Regions from separate parts of the Homo sapiens genome. Here region 1 is linked to region 2. The links are contacts of gene promoters, found by promoter capture Hi-C in blood cells and fetal thymus (Javierre and others, 2016). All regions are on one chromosome and are shown on one strand. Each heading gives the region's core, a stretch centred on a gene start or on the middle of the fragment in contact. The rest is flanking DNA. Distances are from core to core; before and after follow the strand shown.

Region 1 (4,522 bases), core at 991-3,490, 600 kb after region 2:
TGGAGGCTTACTACTGCATTATCTTAGTGTCCATACTGTGAACCTGGTGGGTATTTTATAGGTGTATTTGAGATTAAGAAGAGATTAGTATTTCCTTGTAATTAAACAACCTCAGATGGGTATTGCACATTATCTTGCACCCCTTATAATTAACCCACCAGAGCAGCATTGGGTGACTTGATATGTTGCTCTGATATGATTCCCTTGCCACTATCTTAGTAAAATGTGCCCTATGGTTAATAATTTTAAATACTAATACTTTTAAAAATAATAAAATTAGGTCAAACATGGATTTATTTGTTAATTCTACTCCAATAAAATTGAGTATTTACAAAAACCTTTAGTGTAGTTCTTATTGCAATAAAAATCTAATGACTAGAAAGCCAGAAAGCACTATTTTCTAATCATGTAATGCTCCTTAAATTTCATTTACTAAAAAAGTTACGGAAGTATTTTTTAATGAGCATTGTTATAGTATGAATATTTATATAATTGTGGAGTAATTAGAGCAATTAATTTTAGTGGAAACACAAAGTTTGCAATAGAAGCTACAATTCAATAGGGTTTATTTCAGTGGGAACATAAAGTTTGTAATAGAAATTATAAAAATGATAGCAGATCTTCTAAAAATCACATTCACAACTAGCAAGTAGAAAGCTTATACATTTCATTTGGTGTAACAAAAATCAGTATATTCATAAATTGTAAAATACCTGAAGCTTTTGTTAGTAAACAAAAGCCTTTAAAAAGATGTTCCTCTAATTTTAGTAAAGAGATTTTGATATTTATAAATCGTGAAACATTACACAGGCAGATTTTGGAAGAGGTTGTAATTTTCTCTCTGGAACTTCATATTTATTTTGTTAGAAAAAATATAAATATGTGCTTGTCATTTGTTTTGGAAAAAAGAATTATAAGTATCCATCACAATATTGAGGTAATATTTTAAATTTGATTATTCTACCACTCACTCTCGTCATTTAAAAAATATTCTTTCTCAATCTTCTTTTGTTAAAGAAACAAATGCCAGGAGAGCTGTAGACAGAGGATATGTCCAAGTGCTTTTAACAATTTATGTAGATTGGCACCGCCATGATAACCGGCATAGAAACATGCTCATTCGGAAAGGAATTTTACAGAGTTTAAAAAGTGTTACAAACATCAAGTTGGGAAGAAAAGCATTTATTGATGCCAATGGGATGAAAATTCTGTATAATACTTCGCAAGTGAGTTATTTTCTTCTTATTATTGTGATTATGTACTAATAATATGATTTGGTTGTTAAGAAAACTGAATTAGTGTGCAAATACTCAGAAACGTATACACAGGATAAATGCATTTTTCGAAAATCTTAAAAGTAAAAGACACAATTATTTCTCACATGTGACCTCAGGCTGAGTTGGAGGAAATGGTCAGTGCACAGCTCTGCAATGTGAAATTTTCTTTCTTTTTTTTTTTTTGTATTATTTTTTTTTTATTATTATACTTTTAAGTTTTAGGGTACATGTGCACATTGTGCAGGTTAGTTACATATGTATACATGTGCCATGCTGGTGCACTGCACCCACTAACTCGTCATCTAGCATTAGGTATATCTCCCAATGCTATCCCTCCCCTCTCCCCCCACCCCACAACAGTCCCCAGAGTGTGATATTCCCCTTCCTGTGTCCATGTGATCTCATTAAGGCAAAAGGAAGAAGTAGAAATTCATCCACTTAGCAAGAGGGGATTCCGTAAAGCCATGTTTTCTAGGATGTGTAGTTGGCTGTACTCGGTGTTGTTTGCTCCTCTCATGAGGTATCTGTGGATCCTTTACAGCCTGTAGAGCAGCTCTGTTGTCTGTGAGTATTCTGCACGTTTTCCTGCTGGATAGAGGCTTTTTTGAATAGAGAAGGTACAAAAATGAAACCTGGAACTGGGAATGCTATATCTGCCAGCCATTTTAAGCATAAACATTTTTGACAGTGTATTTAGTGAGATCCTTTCTAGTTGCTGTGCTGACTGTCAGCCATGGGGAATGAGGATGTTGCAATGCAACCCCCTCTCTTTTTTTTTTAAGAAAGCTATAATTATTAGAAAGAAATCTGTCTTTTTGAAAATATCAGCCAGTTATCTTGATTGTGCCCTCCTGGTCTCACACATGACAAACACAGTCTATTTTTATATGACAAGAGTTGAGATATCTGAACACATATTTTATGTTTACCTTAGTTTTTTCTTTTCTAGATCAATCATATGTACTTGTTTTTACTATTCCTAGTATAGACATTGATGGATATTTTATATATGAGAAAGAGTTAGGTCACTTGGTTTATGCCACTTAACATTTCTGAGCCTTAATTTCTCATTTGTTTTGACAGGTCAGATGTGAAAATGTATATGGAAACTTTTACAGTGTATCATAGTACCATCTAAATGTCAAATGTCACTAATAATACTGTTGTTATATGACGGTTTCATATCCCATGTCCCTTAACCCTTCTCCAGATTAGATACCAGGACAGCAAGTCAGACTCTTAAAACTTTATATTGTGGGCCAGGCGCAGTGGCTCATGCCTGTAATCCCAGCACTTTGGGAGGCCAAGGCGGGCGGATCACGAGGTCAGAAGATCGAGACCATCCTGGCTAACATGGTGAAACCTCGTCTCTACTAAAAATACAAAAAATTAGCCGGGCGTGGTGTCGGGCACCTGTAGTCCCAGCTACTCGGGAGGCTGAGGCAGGAGAATGGTATGAACCCAGGAGGCGGAGCTTGCAGTGAGCCGAGATAGCTCTACTTCACTCCAGCCTGGGTGACAGAGCGAGATTCCATCTCAAAACCAAAAACAAAGAAACAAAAAAACCTTTATATTGTGATATTCAGGCTATCCTTTTATAAGGTGAATAGCCAACTTATGAGAGGTATTATTGCATGATAACTGATACAGTTCTGAGGAAGGTTTGGTCAAATGCGTGTTTTTTTTTTTGTTTTTTAATTTCTTACACCTTTTAAATTTTCTTGCTTAATCCTTTTCCCCCTTTTCCCTTAAATTATCTTTTTTATTTTATGCCCTAGGCTTGCCAAGTGTCCCCCCAAGTCACTCCAAAGATGGTACTGATTTCTGCTTAGTGAAAATATTTAAGGAAAAGTTCTTCTGAATTTGCCACATGGGGTTCTTACTTACAGATAGATAATTCTGAATAGTAAAGCTATTTTGTAATTATTCTGTGTTAAAATATTGGTTTTTGAGATATTTGTTTCTAGAAAATTATTAATGTATGACACTTTTTGAACTAAAGTAAAATTGGTTCAGTTATTCATCAAAAACATTCTTTTTCTTTTTCTTTTTTTAAAAAACAGGAATGTCTGGCAGTCAGGACTCTGGATCCTCTTGTCAATACCTCCAGTCTGATAATGAGGAAGTGTTTCCCAAAAAATCGACTGCCACTCCCAACAATTAAAAGTTCTTTTCATTTCCAGTTGCCTGTTATTCCTGTGACTGGTCCTGTGGCTCAGCTCTACAGCTTACCTCCTGAAGGTAGGATCACAGGGTCACTGCTGCTTTTTGTGGGTTCTTAGAATTATGTGACCCTGTGATTTTCTTTTTATTTATGTCTAACTCCTCAGCAAAGGAAGGCCTTACTTAACGTGATAAACATTCACATTTTATTTTAGTTAAGCATTTCTTTAAATGTAAGAAATTGGAGGCTAATAATTAAGTGAAATGGTGTGGGATGTGTTGTATATATGCAAATGTGAATTGTGAAATAATTAAGCTTCACATAGGAATATTATTTGATAGCTTATGTACTTTTTTTTTGTTTTAATTTTTTTTTTTGAGACAGAGTCTTGCTCTGTTGCCCAGGGTGGAGTGCAGTGGTGCAATCTCGGCTCACTGCAACCTCTGCCTCCCGTGTTCAAGCAATTCTCCTGCCTCAGCCTCCTGAGTAGCCAGGATCACAGGCCTGTGCCACCATTCCCGGGTAATTTTTGTATTTTTAGTAGAGATGGGTTTTCGCCATGTTGGCCAGTCTGTTCTCAAACTCCTGACCTCAAGTGATCTGCCTGCCTCGGCCTCCCAAAGTGCTGGGATTACAGGTGTGAGCCACCACACCCGGCCCAACTTATGTATGTTTTTAAAGTGTAAAAATATAAACATTAAATGTCTAGGTAAATTATGTTCGGGTTTACATTTGTAGCTTTTCAGTGATTTTTTTTCTTAAGTTAAAAAAAAACAACCTAATCACCAAAATTACTATGGTTTTATGCTTAACAAAAACTTTCACATGACTTACTTGGATGAAAATATGAAATTATCTGAGGTAGGCTGTTTGTCATTTTCCATATAATACTGTAGGTATACAGTAGAGGAAGTAAGAGTTTATTTATATGGGGAAGAAGAATTTCTTTGACAACATCTACCAAAGTGAAAAAGAGAAAGTAGTCCTGGCTTTTAATAGAATTTCTATAGTATTTTCTTATCAGTTTATTACTTTTTTGAGAAAAAAAACGAAGATTCTTTATTTATATGTAAAATTCTTA
Region 2 (4,436 bases), core at 1,937-4,436:
TGTGTAGGCCAGCAGATCTGTCGCTTAGCAGCAGACTTCAGGCTTTTCATGATCAGTTATAAGCCCACTCTTCCACATCAGGATGCTAAATTGAATGAATCAGGCCATGAGGACAGAGGCCTGCTGTGCTTCATTGTTGCAGGGCGCCTCCCAGCCCTCTGTCACCGGACCCACCAGAATGATTTTTTTTTTCTCAAACAGGAAAGGGTTGGGAACAATCCCTACAAGATCAGATGTCCCTAAGATTTCCAGTATTTCCTAGGTTTCACTCAGCAGGAAATACCTCAAAAAAAAAATGGCCTTTCTTGTCATGTTTTGATACCTGAGAAATCAGGAAATGGAAAAGCCTGTGCTAAGCTGAGCTGTAAGCAACATCAGTGTCTCATTTGAGCCTTAGAGCAGACGTGGCATGGGCCAGACACAGCATCGACCCAGAATAAACCCAAATACAGCTCACCTGAGCTCAGTGCAGGCTGGGAGGCTGGCCTGGAAAGGTGTAGGTTTGGGGTGAGATATGCCTGGATTTGAATCATGGTTCCTGTCATTTTGTAGCCATGTAACCTTCTGTAAAACAGTCTCAGAATTTGGGGGGATGTGATGAGCTAACTACACATAAATGGCATCCTGCTAAGGGTAGACGTTTCATACGTTGTAATTCTTGTCCCTTTTAGCCATTTTCTTGTGCAAAAAGGGATAATATGTTAATGGATTATCAATCAAAGCAAGAGCTTAGGGAAAGAGTTTCAACACATTTAGGGAGTTATTGTCCCATATTCAAATCTGGGGGAAATTTGCTGTATTTCCTTCAAATAAAAGACCACAGTAACTTCTTTGAAAAGAACCATAAATTTCAAATATAAACATTCGGAGAAATTTCATTCTCTTAGTAGCTGATTAACTATAGACAAACCTGCCTTAATTGAGGAGCTGTTTTGAAAGCTCATTCCCCAGTAGGAACTCAATCTCCTGGTCCCAGGTGGGTCTCATCAGACAAGAGATGGAGGAGAGAGGGAGGTGCACCCTAGCCTCAGCCTCTATTGAAATACAGAGCCATGTGGTGGTTACATCACTGTGGACTCCCATCCTCCCTTGCTGCTGTGCAGTGTTCAGGGAAGGCTTCATTTCACACCAACCTTTAGCGGGGCAAGGGCTCTGTACCAGCGGTACTCAGCTTAAAACTAGCCTACTTTGAGGGCCTTGATGGGTTACTGCTTTTACTTCCACTAGCTAGTGATTCCGAAACTTTTCATGATGAAGTGCCCATTTATTGGGCCAGGTGTGTTGGCTCAAGCCTGTAATCCCAGCACTTTGGGAGGCAAAAGTGGGCAGATCACCTGATCCCAGGAGTTCAAGACCAGCCTGGGCAACGTGGTAAAACGCCGTCTCTACAAAAAATACAAAAATTAGCTGGTCATGGTGGTACATGCCTGTAGTCCCCGTTGCTCAGGAGACCAAGGTGAGAGGATCACTTTAGCCCAGGAGGTAGAGGTTGCAGTGAGCCAAGATCGTACTACTGCACTCCAGCCTGGATGACAGAGCAAGACCCTGTCTCAAAAAAAAAAAGAATAAAAAATAAAGTACTCATTTTTTGTTCTCCATGGATTCTATGTCTTGAAGCAGTCCTCAAACTTTAAGGTGCAAATAAGTCACCTGGGGGTCTTGTTAAAAAGCAGATTCTTGGCCGGGCGCAGTAGGTAGCTCACGCCTGTAATCCAGCACTTTGGGAGGCTGAGGCGAGTGGATCACTTGAGGTCAGGAGTTCGAGACCAGCCTGGCCAACATGGTGAAACCCCATCTCTACTAAAAATACACAAAAATTAGCCAGACATAGTGGTGGGCGCCTCTAGTCCCAGCTACTCAGGAGGCTGAGGCAGGAGAATCACTTGAACCTGGGAGGTGGGGAGGTTGCAGTGACATGAGATGGCACCACTGCATTCCAGCCTGGGTGACAGAGCAAAACTGTCTCAAAAAAAAAAAAAAAGCAGATTCTGTAACAAAGGTCCAGGGCAGAGCCTGAGATTCTGCATTAGTAGCAAAGGCCCAAGTGAAGCCAGTGCTGTTGCTCTGCAGAACACCTTTGAATGGCAGGCTTTTGAAATATTTTCTCATTGGAAGAATCTTCTGTATTTATTAAATTCTGCTTAAAATTATTAACTTTCTTGTATATCCATGTTCATAACAGCATTATTCACAATAGCCAAAAGGTAGGAACAACCCAGGTGTCCATTGACAGGGGACAGGGGGTGAGAAATTTATTTCATGGACACAGATTCAGGTGGAAAAGATGAAAAAGCTCTGGAGATGGAAGGCAGTGCAGGTGGCACAACAATGTGAATGTACTGAATGCCACAGAACTGTGTACCTAAAACGGCTTAACACGGTAAGCTTCATGTTATGGATATGTTGCCACGGTGTTCACAAGTTATTAACTCAATCAGACTATTTAAATGCCCAGTAGATTGCATTCTGGGGAAATGGCTGTTTCAGGAAAATTTTCAGTGATTGCCACAGGGACCTCCCATGGGTGGGGAATGGAGTCTGGAGCACGGCTGCATGGCTCATGGAGAGAATTTGCACAGCCAGGTAGCCCCTGGTCCACTTCTACCCATATCTGGCCAGGTGCAAAGAGCATAGCTGTACCTTCTATTATCTCTCTCAATTTCTTATTTGCACTTTGCCCATGTCTATAGAAGGAAAAACTTGACTGATTAAAAATTACATTCACGGCACCTGTAGTCCCAGCTACTCAAGAGGCTGAGGCAGGAGAATGGCGTGAACCCGGGAGGCGGAGCTTGCAGTGAGCTGAGATCGTGCCACTGCACTCCAGCCTGGGCGACAGAGTGAGACTCCATCTCAAAAAAAAAAAAAAATTATACTCACGCCAGCCTGGGCAACATGGCGAAACCCCATCTCTAGAGAAAAATACATAAATTAGCCAGGCGTGGTGGCGTGCGCCCGGGGTCCCAGCCACAAGCTGAGGCAGAAAAAAAAGTAGCTACTCAGCTACTCAATGTTCACTCTTTAAAAATGCTTTTCCATCATCCTCCACCGTCTCCCACCCCCCACCAAGCAGCAAGATAATTCCCCATCGCTTAGCATCATATAGCTGCTTATGTGACCTTGAGAATGTCCACATGTCACAATGGACAGTCACTTAACACTAAGCAATGACACATGCTAGGAGTGGGGCTGGGCCTTGGGGCTGCTGGATGAATGAGACCCAGCCTCTGCCCTGGGAGTGCAGAGACTCAAGACAGATATGACCACGTGAAGAGACAACTGTAAAACAAGTGGTAAGTGCATCTACAGCCATAGCCACGGGGCACTGTGAGACCACAGAGCAGTGAAAACTAAGCCAGTCTAGGCTTGGCAAGGAGAGATGGAGTGAGGTGGGCAGTGGCTAAGGTGGGAAGACCAGAGCTGGGAGGTGAGATGGGATTTGGGTTTATCTTTACCAATAAGGATGAGGAGCCTGTTTCATCTTCCTCCAGGCAGGTCACAGAAGCTGGAACCAGTTGATCGGGCCGAGCCTGCAGACTCCCTCATCCTTTCCGGCCTTCAACACTGATAGCTCTGCTCTCTCTCCCCAACCTCAGTGCCTTCATCCTCCCCTGTGTTCCCATGGATGCTTGGTCCTGACTTTGCACCTCTCCCTCACACCCAGTGTCCTTTGTTTTTCCTCTGCCACTTGGGAGGCTGATGGGAGGATCACCTGAGCCTGGGAGGTTGAGGCTGCAGTGACCTGTGTTCACGCCACTGCACTCCAGCTGGGGTGACAGAATGAGAGCCTATCTCAAAGAAAAAAAAAAAACACTGCTCTGTATGATACTATCAAAGTGGATATATGTAATTGCACATTGTGAAATCTCATAGAATGCACAACACCAAGAATGGACCGTAATGTAAACTGTGAAGTATGGGCTTTAGTTAGTAACCATGCATTGATACCGGCTCATCAAGTATAACAAACGTACCACACAAACATAAGTAGTAAAAAAAAAAGGGGAAAGCTGTGTGTATGGTGCAGAGAAGGGGGGTTGTGGGAACATTGTACTTTCTAACCAATTCTAAAATTGCTCTAAAATTTAAGTATATTAATATTTTTAAAAAAAGTTTCGTTAAATTAGCAATATAATAGTTGCTTACCCAAGAAAATTCAGGTTTTCAAATATTGCGTTTTAAAAGCAATTATTTCCGGATGTGAGGGTGATCTGGCTGCAACATCTGTCACCCCACTGATGGCCAGGGTTAATTTGTCTGATCTGGCTGGCTAGGTGGATGTCTCCTTCCTCCCTCATCCGTCCACATGCGTCCTTCCAGACGCTGCGGACAACCTTCCCCAACAGAGGAGGGCCGTTCTTTGGGCAAGGGTATATGAGTAGCTGCACTCCCCTGCTAGAACCTCCAAACAAGCTCTCTAAAAGTAATTACTTCAA

What was found. The method cuts DNA at HindIII sites, captures the fragments that hold promoters and counts their contacts. A CHiCAGO score of 5 or more calls a contact.
Region 1: a contact is called between a fragment that was not itself captured here and the fragment with the promoter of C9orf153 in region 2, in 1 of 17 cell types (total CD8 T cells). The highest score is 6.4, in total CD8 T cells.

The regions. Positions count from the first base shown.
Region 1 is chr9:85,654,139-85,658,660 of GRCh38, reverse strand. AGTPBP1 (ATP/GTP binding carboxypeptidase 1) reads left to right here. Exons shown (of 26, transcript NM_001330701.2): 10 at 1,018-1,226; 11 at 3,341-3,518. Among named protein-coding and RNA genes, the nearest start is that of AGTPBP1, 86 kb to the left of the region's middle. The HindIII fragment of the contact is 3,037 bases long and covers 722-3,758 here.
Region 2 is chr9:86,258,407-86,262,842 of GRCh38, reverse strand. C9orf153 (chromosome 9 open reading frame 153) reads left to right here and starts at 3,186. Exons shown (of 4, transcript NM_001276366.4): 1 at 3,186-3,293. It also overlaps the pseudogene RN7SKP264. The HindIII fragment of the contact is 3,437 bases long and covers 2,388-4,436 here.